2 separate regions of the Homo sapiens genome follow, and region 2 is linked to region 1. Evidence: promoter capture Hi-C in human tissues and cell types (Jung and others, 2019). All regions are on one chromosome and are shown on one strand. The core of a region is centred on a gene start or on the middle of the fragment in contact, and the rest is flanking DNA. Distances in the headings are between cores, read along the strand shown.

Evidence for each region. The method cuts DNA at HindIII sites, captures the fragments that hold promoters and counts their contacts. A contact is called where the count stands out against the background at its distance.
Region 2: a fragment that was not itself captured here is called in contact with the fragment with the promoter of MCTP2 in region 1 in 1 of the 25 tissues and cell types used here (lymphoblastoid cells).

What each region holds. Positions count from the first base shown.
Region 1 is chr15:94,228,514-94,235,402 of GRCh38, reverse strand. MCTP2 (multiple C2 and transmembrane domain containing 2) reads right to left here and starts at 3,842. Exons shown (of 23, transcript NM_001385001.1): 1 at 3,739-3,842. RefSeq lists a silencer at 3,783-3,912 and an enhancer at 5,448-5,587. The HindIII fragment of the contact is 15,455 bases long and covers 1-6,889 here.
Region 2 is chr15:93,873,380-93,880,268 of GRCh38, reverse strand. LINC02207 (long intergenic non-protein coding RNA 2207) reads right to left here. Exons shown (of 4, transcript NR_120321.1): 4 at 1,913-2,235. Among named protein-coding and RNA genes, the nearest start is that of LINC02207, 20 kb to the right of the region's middle. The HindIII fragment of the contact is 6,244 bases long and covers 1-5,623 here.

The DNA of each region.
Region 1 (6,889 bases), core at 2,593-5,092:
CTCTAGACGCAGAGCTCCTAATGCGGGGTGCCTGAGAACGTGCATTTCTAACAAGTTAATCTCAGGTACGTAGGTGCTGCCGGACTCGAAGAACATCAGTGGAGGAGAATGAATGAGTCTAAACCACCAGGGATTTTTTTTTTTTTTTGAGACGGAGTTTCGCTCTTGTCTCCCAGGCTGGAATGCAATGGTGCAATCTTGGCTCACTGCTGCAACCTCCGCCTCCCAAGTTCAAGCCATTCTCCTACCTCAGCCTCCCAATTACCTAGGATTATAGGCACTGCCACCACACCGGACTAATTTTTGTACTTTTAGTAGAGATGGGATTTCGCCATATTGGCCAGGCCGGTCTCGAACTCCTGACCTCAGGTGATCCACCCAACTCGGCCTCCCAAAGTGCTGGGATTACAGGCGTGAGCCACTGTGCCCGACCACCACCAGGGCTTTTAATGGCTCTCTGCTCACTTAGAATGACCCTCCTGGACTCCATCAGAGTAACTCCAAACTCAGCTCAAGCCATCAGGAACCCTCCAAGGCCCCTGTGGCATCTCTATGCAAGCCTATAACAAAGCACTGTGATCAATGAAATCAGCTCCATGAGACTGGGAGTTCTTGACAATCAGGACTTCGCCTTACTCAGGACTTGGGACATTAGAAAACTCCCAATAAATGGTGACTGATAGTTGGAAAAGCCAATGGCCAAAGGCATCCCTGAGAAACAAACCAACCTGGAAAGTCTTGAAGACCAGCTCTCAGAATTGTTCGTTGGACATGAGTGTCCAGAGTGTCTCTGCTGTCCCATCCAGCAGTCTCTTCTCTGCTCAGTGGAGCATGAGTCCTTTGCCTTTAACCACAACTTTCCCTCTCACTCTTTGAGGGTAACAGAGCTTCAACTTTGGGCTTCTCACTAGCAGGGCCCCCCGTGGGTGTGACAAGCTGCTGGGAAATGCTGAGTGTTCTCAGGGAGAGGGGAAGCCGGATTGCAATCAGCACTCCTGTTTTTGTAAGCATTTCTGGTAAATTGCCCAAGATCTCCACAGAAACAGGCAGAAATCTCCAGTAAATTATCATCTCTTTTTCTCATTTTAAATACATATTCACTTTCACACCTAATTTTGTATTAATTTTCTTAAAGAGAGTCTCCAAATTGTTTACCTTTTAGGCCTCACAAAACTTGGAACTGCCCCTGCTTCATATCCCCTACATACTCTCCTCCTTCATCACCCACCCTGGTTCCCCATGAGAACACCTTACCAGGTCAGGCACACTTTTATAAACACCTTCTAGGAAGGACTTAACAGCTCAGCTCCTAAAGAGGAGTTTAAGGTGTCTGGCTGTTTCACCTCCACGTGAAGATAGAGGGAAAAAAAAAATCTGTGCCAAGATTGACGCAGGCAAAATATTCTACCTGATCCTCGCTTCACGGGCAAAGCCTTTTCTCAACAGTTAACTGGCAACAATTCAAGGTAATTTAAATATAAAACCCCTTCCATTTCTGTGTGTAATTACCAACAATTACAAGAAAAGTTTTAAGAAAGCAAGTGTTTTCCACAACAAGAAATATTATTTGAATTCAGAGTACTATTTTTCACTCACTTTCCATTCTCCACAGTATAATAATTTTAATTTGAAAATTACTTTCCTGGTTTACATGCACTTAAAGAAATTGTCAGTTGTTATAAATCCTTTATGCAAAAGTCAAATAAGGAACTTGATTCCTCGCCAGATCATCACATTGCAGTACTCTACAATTTCCAGAAGTAGTACTTCTGGAAATAGGTTTAAGGAAAAATATATATTCGTGTGTGAGCACAGGTTTACACAAACACAAAGTCCTTTCCAGGTGACAAGAGACCGCTAATCATCTTGCAGCTGTAAGAAATCAAGCTGAAATTGATTTCAAAGCCCACTCAGCTGAGAAACTCACCTCTGCAGGAGGAGACCATAGTAAAGCACACCAATAATAGGAAATTAGCTGTTCCTTCCATGTATAACACAGAGAGAATATATATGCAATTTTATTAATTGGCCCTGTTTGGATATATCAGGCCTTTCAAAATATGTTAAGAGACATAATAAATTTTATCTTTTAACATATTTTGAAAGGCCTTTCAAAATATGTTAAGACACATAATAAATTTTATCTTTTAAAGCTACATCTACTAGTCACAGATAGGTCACAGCTTGACCACACAAGTGCAATGAAAACAGTGCTCACTTCATTCCTGAGGACTACTTTAACTCCATTAATCCCCAGGAGATAGGATCTATGAATATAAATTTGAATTCTTATATTAAATCTGCCGGATTTACACTCTCCATCTTAGAGACAGCATGGAATAGTGAAAAAGTACGAGTTCTGCACTCAGAAATAGCCACATGCAATTTCTAAATTCACCACTGACCTTGTACAAATTACTGGACTCCTCTCTGCCTCAGTTCCTTATCTGCACAGGGGAATAGTATCTACTTTGTAGATTTCATAGACAAGACAAAGTGCCTAGCATGGTGCTTGGCACAGAGCTAATTCTTAATAATCTTATTTTAAGCATGGTTTTGACAATTTTTATTGCTTTGGAATGACTGATCAGGCTAATGACAGAGACTCTTCAAAGATTTACATTCTCCCTGCATTTAAATACTTATAACCAGCGATTACACAGGTGCTGCTGAGGCAAAGCGCAGCACCATTGGTCTCGTTCTAAACACCCACCTGTGAGGAATAAGTGCCTTAAGATTCCCCTTTGTATTAATATCAACACCTGTGCTACCCAACAGCACACCAGCCCGGCTCTCAGAGGTCTGCCCGTTAACAGGTGTACAATAAATATTTGTTGAATTGAAATGCTACTGACTCAAGCAAAAAATGAATGCTAATGTAAATTATAATCCATACAAATCCTTCAATAAGTGGTGTCTGAATTCTGTGCGTCCTGAAGCAAGTGTTCTAACGTCTCACGGTTCACTGAGAAGCTGCTTGGTACCTTAAGGGTTCGCACCCTTGTACCTTCCAGACCAAGCTCTTGTAAGCATCTAGAGGAGGCTGAAACCCTCAGTCAGCATCGCACAGAAGTTCATTCAGACTAGAGAAAACCTCTTTTATGGCAACCCAATCATTTAAAAAAAGCCGTCAGCACATTTGCTTAACAAATGGACAGTGCAGGAGGGAACTAATTGCGGAAACTAATCGCCACTCAAGTTCACCACCAACATCACTGTCTTTATTTTTAACTTACTTATCTTCAGTGGGATTGAGACACTGTTTGTTACCTACGCAATTATCCCAAGGATTTCTGCTCCGGTGTCGTTGAGCAAATGTCAGCGCAAAGAATTAAAGTTGAACCTCCGGGTCTCTACGAAGAGAGCGTATTAAAGCCCACCCAGCTGAGGAACTGACCTCTGTGGAAGGAGTCCTGGATGTGGCGGTGACTACCTCCGTAGCGCCCCGGGGAGACTGAATGTGTGGCCTTTAAAATGCAAAGAAATTCTGGGCCAGGCTGCCCTCCCCTAGTGCGCCTTCCAGTACGCCACGCCTGGATTTCTGCCTCCAGTCCTCAGGACACCTTTCTGATCTCTGAACCACAAGCAGCTCCGGGGTAGTAGCGCCACTGAATTCTCATCCTGGACCCTCCAGCTCCCCAACTCCCAGCTTCGGTTGAGAGAAGACGCCCACCCCCAGGCGGCGACCGTGCTGCCCGGCCCACGCGCGCTGCCAGGTGAACCCGGCACCGCCCTCACCTGTGCGAGGCCGCGTTCGGGGGCTGCAAAGCTGGGCAGGCGCGCGCCCCTCACCTGCACCGGACCCGCTGCAGTCGCCACTCGGAAGCGCAGGGAGCAACCCTGACGCGGCGGGGGCGGGGGCATCACCGAGGGCCCCCGGACTTCCTCGGGCCCCCCCACCGCCCTTGCGAGCCCCGCCTAAAGGGGAGGAGGCGGCCGCGCGTCACCTTTGAGCAGCCTCCGACCCAAGCGCCCGCGCTGCCGCCGGGAGCTCGGCCGGGTGTTGCAAGGAGGCGCTATGCTTGGTGCTGGGCACTGGCTGGGCGTAGAGAAGGCGATTACTTGTAACTCATTCGTTTGGGTTGGCTCACAGGAAAAGGAAGGTGTGTCCAAAAAGTCCGAAGTGAGGAAATAGGACGAGGATGGCTTGCAAACTCGTAAAGTCTTAATAAGCTGTCTTCGCTGATACTCAGAAGGGTTCTCTTCGCTCCTGTAGGTCCCTAATAGATTCATGGGAAGACAGCAGCCTCCCTTTGTAACGCCCTGACCCTGGGAAGAGGTACCCGAGCCAGACAGCCTATTAACCTATGCCACGTGTGCGCGACTGTGGGTGGAAGATGCCCGCCCAGATCCACAGAACTGTTTCCTGAGCCTTGGTGCCTCATCTATGAGATAAGGCCGGCGTACTGCTCAGCAAGCCGTCCCGAGTACTCGGCAGAGAACCCTAAAGACCCTCCCGTGCGATTGTTGGCACTCAGCGAATATTTGCTATTTATTTCCCCTTTCCCTTACTTTCTTTTTCTACTTTTTTTTACGCCGCTTTCCTGCTGTAATTGTCTTATTGCACTTTGTTTGCTCGGTTTCACTGCCTGGTCAGTTTCTTTTCCCGTCTATGAACGAGCCTAAGTCTGTGCGCTCTAGGAATTTGGGTGGATTAGGAAAAGAAATGTATGATCCATGCCTTCTGGGAGATCAGGGACTCATCTCTGGGAAATAGCATTTTTAAATTAGATACAAGAGAGTTACAGAAAATAACCTTAAAACGGGAATGGGACCTCTGGGAATAGGCGAGCTCTGAAATGAAGCGTTTAGTTGGTGTCACTGGTGATTAAGAGCTCCGGCTTTGGAGTCAGACCTCAAATCAAATTCTGCCTGGGCAACTAATTGTGTAAATGGACGAGTTCACTTAACCTCTCTAAATTTTAACTTCAACAAACTGGTTGTTTAAATAGCTTAAAATAGCTTAAATAGCTTAAAATAATAGCTATCTCATACTTTCTGAGAAATTAATTAGGTAATTCACATAAAATCCTCATTACAGTGTCCTGGGCCATGGTAACCACTTAATAAAAGTTAGCTATTAACAATACTAAGGTAGGAAATGGGAGGAAGGGGCATAAAAATTTAGAAAACATGAGGACGTGATAGAAAACAGCTGCCACTGTCATGCAATTCCGACTTACAACAATAGCTACCACTGAGGAACACAACTTCGCACCAGTTTCTGTGATTGGCATGTAACACGTGATCATATTGAATTTTCACAAACCAGGAGACAGTTAATAAAATCTCTGATTCAAGATGAGGAAAATGAGCATCAGAACCATGAAATAACCTGCCTGAAGCTATGAGTCAAGTTAGTAGCCGAGTCAGAGCAAGCTGAGGCCTATGGCAAAATTGGCTTTTCCCACCGTGCCGAAGGTTACATCCCCTAGCAGAGAACAGAGAGAGGTAAGGGTAAAACAGCATGAAAGGAAGAAGAGAAAGAGCAGTAGGCAGACGAAGCAATCATACCTTTAAAGCTGACTAAGAATACAAATGAATTAAAATAGTAAGTGAACCCACACAAAAGCTTTTTTGCCTTTAACTCCTGCCCCAGTGGAGTTCCTGTTCTGTGGTTCCGGCAGTCCAACCGCATTTTTCAATCATTAAATGGTATAGAAAGTGAAACAACTAAAGATACAGAAATCTAAGGTCACAACTTGCCCTTCCCACCACAATACACTCATCTGCCCAGCTTCCTGGGTTTTTTGTTTTTAATTGTTCAAACATATTACCTGTCTCCTTTTCTATGTTCCACCCAGGAAATGTCCCTTCCAGGGAATAATATTGTTGCTTATACCAATTTAACTTTACTACATAACCACACCAGCATTTAGAATGGCAACTGGACTCATACATGTAGCTGATAAATTTTTAACACACTTTTGTTATATTGAATTTCTCTAAACAGATTTTGAACCAGGTCTTACATTATAGGCACTGGTCAGTGATGTCATAATTATACTTAAAAAAAAATAAAATCTCCTGCACGTATCATAGGCAGCTTTCTCTCTCTTCTGAGCAACCAGATATTTGGCCTCTGAAGAAATGCCCCTATTGTCAATGTGATAATTGAGGTGGAGATTTCCCACTTTCAGATACAATTGCTTTTATATCTTAGACAATGTATGTTTGGTTGCATGACAATCTAATATTGGCACCTCTTCTTTTAAATTGTAAATGGAAGATGTGTCTTCTGAAGGCCCAGTGTACTCCTTGGCTATCATGGCTATACTGCCTGTCATACATGCAGAAGCACGGTTAAGTGCATACAAAGGCTAGATAACAATTAGTGCAGTTATCTAGCCACGTCCCTGTGCCTTTTTGAATGAGCCAGAGTATTTCAAATGAAACAAATGAAAATTGCTGTAGCCACCCAGAGTCTTTGACAATGAGGGTTAAAGCAGTCTTCTCTAAAGAAGACAAGACCCTGTCTGTAAATGCATAGGATCTAGAGTTCCATATCTTCTCTGCTCAGTGGGAGCCTCCTTGGGTCATCCTATCAGAGTTGGCCATGCAGTCAACACAGTCTGGCTCCATTTGGAGGACACAGAGCTAATCTTGCTGGGACAAGTCCCTTTATGTCAAAGAGAAAGCTGTCTGAGATCTGCTAGCAGTAATGTAAGGGCTTGGCACCTAGCTTCCCTCACATTTTCCTTCGTTGGTGCTTCTCATCATTTCTGGGCCGATAAGAGCAGAAGTAGAAAAATGACTGAGACATAAACATGTCAATTTAGATCTACCAGGGGTTAAAACGAATATAATGGTTAAAGCAAACTTCAGTCTATTGTCCAAGTAACAAATGTTTATTTTAGTGTGTGCTTTAAGGAAGAATATGCACTCTGTT
Region 2 (6,889 bases), core at 1,252-3,751, 350 kb after region 1:
GAACTGCCGGAACAAAATGGATGGTATAAGAGCCCTATCCAATAGGTACCACTAATTGAATGACCTCTTTGTATCTATCTAAAGACTTAGCCTAAGTTAAGCAAAGCCTGACACTATGTAATCTCCTATATTATGGCATCATGTTGTGGGGATAATGAGTTGAAGTAAAAAGAGCATGGTGTAGCTAGACAGAGGGTCTCAAACTTGAGTGTGTATCAGAATCACCCAGAAGACTAAAACAAGGATTAGTGGACCCTGCTCCAGAATTTCTGATTCAGTAAGTCTGGGTGGAGGCTGAGATCTTTAATTCCAACATATTTTCAGGGAATGTTGATGCTACTGGTCCAGGAATAATACTTTGAGAACCTTTGGAGATATACTAGTTTCTCATTTCTCTTTCTTTATTACTCTAGCTCAGAGAATCTATCCTTCCTTGTCAACACTAGCGGCACCAAAGGTTGAATTCTATGTGGTTCAGCTTTCTGCTTAACATGTGGACTTTTCTCTCCCCAGGACTAAGTTGCAATCTGTTGGATTTCTTTGAGTTTTGTTCTTGTCCAGGGAAAGATGTTCATTAAATAGTAGCTGATGTGGCCGGGTGCAGTGGCTCACACCTGTAATCCCAGCACTTTGGGAGGCCGAGGCGAGCGGATCACCTGAGGGCAGGAGTTCGAGACCAGCCTGGCCAACATGGCAGAACCTTGTCTCTACTAAAAAAAAAAAAATACAAAAATTTGCTGGGTGTGGTGGCGTGCACCTATAATCCCAGCTACTTGGGAGGCTGAGTTAGAAGAATCACTTGAACCTGGGAGGCAGAGGTTGCAGTGAGCCAAAATTGTGCCACTGCACTCCAGCCTGAGAGACAGAGTGAGACTCCATCTCAAAAATAAAATAAAATAAAACGAAAAAAGAAAGTAGCTGACATATAAAGTGTCATGATCCCCAGACTCAGGGGAAGAGACGTGGCCTCTCAGATGAGGGTGGGTGAAGTTTAGTAGCAAACTTACCTGGGGCACCTCCCAGCTGATACCTCTGCATCATGACCTGAACATCTGAACATATGTGCCTTGAGAAAGCAGTCTTTGCCCAAAAGCGTGGGTCCCACAAACTCAAAAGAAGCTCTCAGTGTTTAAAATGAAAAAAGCTCAATCATGACAATAGAAACCATATTCACTATGCAGGAAATTGAAGTTCAAGTCTTACCTATATATCTGAGAAAAAGAAAAACCTGTGTTCAACCTCGGAGTAATCCCTAATGAACTACAAGAATCTCTGTGTGCCCTTTATCAGGTGACCAGCTAGCCATGCAGTCAGTTCGCATCACTGCAGAGCATATGAGGAAAGATGCACTACATTCATTTTCATGCACTTTTTACATATTGAAGTCAAAACTCCAATGTGTAAACTGAAAATTTGAAAAAAAAATTAGCACAATTTCCTCCAGGATTATTTGGCTTGCAAAAATGAAAGTGTAGTTTTATTTTAAGTGACTTTGGGTGTTCTCCCTATCGAAGTCTGGCTACATGTAGTAGAATTTATCTCATTCGTATATGGGGAAAATTAAGCCCTATTTCAGCATATGTCTAAGGACCACTTTACTGCGTGTACAGAGACCCAGGGCACTGGGGAGAAGACATGTTGCATTTAGCCAAGCTTTGATAAAGTAGGATAAGATCTGGGAGGACCTTGCACAAGCAAGGTTTCCACGTTAAAAGAGTTTGAATACACAGATTCCCATCAAAATTATGAATCTCTAGCCCAGTGCGTGGCACATTAAAAGCACTCCATAAATACTTTTGATTTGGAATTTAGTAGAGAAAAAAAGAGCCAAGATTTGTTGGGTTTCACTCTTGAACCTGTAACTCATTTTGTTCTGAAAACATTCCCCAGTAAAAAGGCTTGGACATCCATCTACAGCCTTGGCCATCCATATATATTTCTCTTAATTTTCCACAATATGTCCTCAGCAAGTGTAAAGTTGTAGAAAGGTGAACACCATGGTGTCCTGTAGAAGAAATAAATAGGAGGTCATTTTCCAAGATGCATGGTGACTCTAGACATCATCAGGCCTCACTGTAAAACCTTGCTTTTCCGGATGGTGAATGGATGTGAAAAGTTTTACAAACACTTCTTTTCCAAATGTTGAAGAATTTTAATTTTTTTCTTGTTGTAAAATGTTGATGCTCCAGCCATTGAAAATAGTGCAATATGAAAACTTGCTGATCTGCTTTTTGTCTAGAGAAAGAAAACAATTTGTTTGGCACAAGTCATTGATTTTCCAGTAATTTGAGCAATAAAGGGACTAAATTCTTAGAAAAAATACCAAATCCAACCCCACCTGCCTGATGTTTTCATAAGATACTGCATACTCAGCTTAGAGTCCAGAAACATTTATAATTTGCAGTTCTTAATGAACTGATGGAAAGGCAAAGATGTTAATAATTTCTACAGTTTACAAGCTAAAGGTATACTCATAAATTCCTAAGTAATTATGAACAAAATATTTAAACTCTTGGCCTCAATTTATTCAGTGATAATGTAAGAGCACCAAACTACCTGCTTCTCCAAGTATGTATTAATAAGTAATAGTAAAAATGATAATAATGACTCCTTTTTGAATGCTAGTGTTTTCTACATGTCAGGCATTATGCTAAAACCTTTACTTGAATTATCTCATTTTGTTCTTACCACAACCCTAAAACATGTTCTATGATGTCATTTTACAGATAGAGAAAACCAAGGTTATTTAGAGGATAAGCAACTTTCCCGAGTGAACAAAAACAGACCTAGGATAAATTCAAGTCTACCTAACTATAAAACCAGTGTCCACAAACACTTGTCAAAATTATAAATACGTTCTCAGATTAAATATTATTATTTCCCCCTTTAAAGGACATATATGGGCATACACTAAGCCATGAAGTAAATGATAGATAATAGATAGATAGATGATAGAGATAGATCACACACATACTTGTTTCTTTCCAATTCCAACAGCCCACTCTGTTTTTTCCATGACTCTGAATAGATTATTTCTGTTACTTTGGATAGGAGGGTTGATTTCATAAAACAAAAAATAAAAATAAAATCTTTTATCACCTTTAGATATAAATGACTTGTTTTTGCAATTCATGTAAATAACGAAAATTCAAACTTGTTTCACAGTTAAAATTTCTTTCTTCTTACTTCCAGATGTAGATTCAGATTCAGGGGCCTAACGCTCACACACTTTGGTGTATAACCTATTTTTTGAAAAGGGATGCAAATTTTGAAATATAAAAGTAGTTACAAAAGTGAATATTTAGTGTGATGTCAGCAAGAGGGTGGATTAGGAAGCTCCAGTTCATAGAAGGCCGTGGTACTTACTGTAGTATATGAAAACCACAGAGGCACTTCAGACCATTGAACATCTAGAGTGAAGAGATTACAGGCCAAGGAATGCAATAGAACATTTAGAACCCCCTAGAAAAAGCTAGAGTGAGATATTTTGGGAAATTAAGACACTTAAAACAAGCCTGGAAACACACAGGGACAGACACACACACACAGAGGCCCAGACAGAATGCATACCCAGAAAGGATCTGAAAAGACATTAAGACTTCAACCCAGGCTAATGTCAAGGATAGGTGGGCCCACTAAGTAGTAACAGTCTTCCACATCAGTTTGCAAAGATGGGGAGAAGTGTCCACTTTTTTCAAATGCCCAATTTTTAACAACAACAAGAAAAAAAAGGCATAAAATGAAATTGGGAAATATGACCCATGTAGAGGAACAACATAAATGTTGTTATATATGTATATATAAATATATATATATAGATTTATATATATACACACACGCAATGGAATACTATTTAGCCATACAAAAGAATGCAATTATGTTATTTTCAGCAATATAGATGAAACTTGAGGTCATTATGTTAAATGAAACAATCCAGGGACAGGAAAGACAAATACCACATATTCTCATATGTGGGAGCTAAAAAAGTAGAACTCGACCGGGTGCAGTGGCTCACGCCTGTAATCCCAGCACTTTGGGAGGCTGAGGTGGGTGGATCACTTGAGGTCAGGAGTTCGAGACCAGCCTGACCAACATAGTGAAACCCCATCTCTACTAAAAATACAAAATTACCCAGGCCTGGTGGCGCATGCCTGTAACTCTCGCTACTTGGGAGGCTGAGGCAGGAGACTTGCTTGAACCCAGGAGGCAGAGTTTGCAGTGAGCCGAGATCTTGCCATGGCACTCCAGCCTGGGCAACAGAGAGAGACTCTATCTCAAAAAAAAAAAAAAAATCATGAAAGTGATTAATAAAATGCCAGATACCAGAGGATGGGAAGAGTGTGGGTGGGAGGAAGGATGAAGAGAAATTATTTAATGAGTATAAACATACAGTTAAAATAAATAAGCTCTAATGTTTGATAGCAGAGCGGGGTGACTATAGTTAGCAACAGTGCATTATATATTTTAAAGTAGCTAGAAGAGAGGGCTCGAAATGTTCCCAACACACAAAAATGATAAATACTCAAGGCAATGGACGCTCCCAATACCCTGACTTGATCATTACACATTCTATGCGTGTAAGAAATGTACCCACATATACCCCATAAACATGTAAAATATTATGTATCAATTTAAAAAAGGATGATTCCAAGTTAGTAACTTAGCTTCATACTTTAAGATACCATAAAAAGAATAAACTAAACCTAAAGCTAGCAGAAGCAAATAAATAATAGAAGTTAGAGCAACAGTGTGGAAGTTCTTCAAAAAATTAAAAAATAGAATTACCATATGATTCAGCAATTCCAGTTCTAAGTATATAACCAAAAGAACTGAAAGTAGGGTCTCAGCAATGTATTTGTAAACCAATGTTAGTAACAGCATTATTCACAAAACCTAAAACATGAAAGCAATGGAATTGTCCATCAACAGATGAATAGATAAGCCAAATATGACACATGCATTCAATGAAATATTCTGCTCTAAAAAGGAAGGAAATTTTGGCATATACTGCTACGTGGATGAAGCTTGAGGATATTAAACCAATGAAATAAACCAGTCACAAAAGATAAATACTGTATGATTCTAATTAACCCCAAAATAGTGTCTTCCTCTCAATACTTGCAAATGATCAGAGAGAGCAAAGAATTGACAGGGTTACCACTGGATGCTGAGGCCTAAGTAAAACCTGGGATACATAGTTCACTCATCCCAGCCATCCTGTGCTTTCTTGCGTACAACACTTCGGTGGTCTTTATCATACTTTGTCAGGATGGAGAGGCAATCATCTCTATTTGTGTAACTCCTGTTCCACTCTTCACAGGCCAAAGGGGAACAACTAAGACAGGGAGAAATCTTTTCTTAAAATACATTCTGTCCACTCCAAGTACTAAATGTTAGAAAAAGTAAATCCTTGACATAGTATTCATATCTTAAAATTGGCTAGTTACCGTGAATACTGCAAAATTTTAAAAATAGAAACATCAAAATCAAGTATTTATGACATTTCCTTAAAGGACCATCTCTCTCACAGCAGAGATCCATCAATATTGGTTGCTCAAGATTACAAATATGTGTATAAAAGGGTCAAAGCTATGAAAAGAGTAGTTTCTCAGTAAATTTAAAGCAGCAACGAAATACAAAATTAGAATAGATACAGCATCCTATATTATCAAACACATTCAAGCCAATTAGTTCATAACATCTGTTGATATTTATCCACAATAGTCTAAAAAAATCACTTTCCTGTATCAACGCTTGCTACCTCTAATTTTTACAACAAATCAGCAAGCTAGGTATTCTTTTGCCTATTTTACAGATGCGGAAATTGAACAATAGGAAGATTCAACACAATGTAGTCAGGATAAGAATGAATGAGAAGAGGCCCAGTCCTTAGGAGGAATTGTAACCAAGTTTCATCTGTAGATCTCCCAGTGATCCTCCAGCCTTGAATTTGTTTTAAGATCTATCTGAGTTAGTACTTCCCTACGAGTTTCTCAGAAGCAAATCCAAATCTTCCCTTAAGTAAGGTATTTATTTAAAGATATTCAAATTATTTCTACAAATAACTATATAGAGTTAAAGATTTCCAGGTAACAGAGAAACGAAAGACATCATGAGCAAGAGCCAACAAAAAAGAGAAGCTGACCCACAAAATATTTAAATTTTGTGTGATCAGTCTTTAAAATAAGTGATTGTACTATGTGCAGAGAAACAAAGGTAAGCTTGAAAATGTAACAGCAAACAAAAAATGATAAAATATAATATAGCATATTATAAACTAAAGAATGAAACTAAACTTCTAAGCCTAAGGTACAATAATCAAAATCAATTACTCAAAGAGTAGGTTTTACATTAGATTACATATAGCCATAAGGAAAATTTTAAACTAGAAGATAACTCAGAAGAAATCATCTAGAATATAGCATAAAAAGGACACAAAGGTGGAAAAATTAGAATAGTATGAAAAGATATAGTAGATTCCATGAGATCTAGCCTTTACTTGAAAAATTGTGGTCCCAGAAGAACAGAAAGTTAAAAATGAGGCAATATTTGAAGAGATAACAGCTCAGAGTTTTCCTTAACAAGGCAAAAGCTTCAACCTACAGATTCAAGAAACTCAGTGGTACCCAACAGGATAAATAAAAATAGATATTCAGCTAAATACATCAGAGTGAAACTGCTGAATATCAAGTCAAAGAGAAAATCTTAAAAGCAGCAGAAAATTTTTTTAAAAAGACATTACTTTTATTGAAACCATAGAATTACAACTGCTGTCTCAAAAGCAACAATAGCTGGAAAACAATGGAATGACATTTCCAAGGAAACAAAAGAAAATAATTGCTAAATTACTAGATCTAGGAAAATGCAGCTTAAAAATGAAGTTGAAACA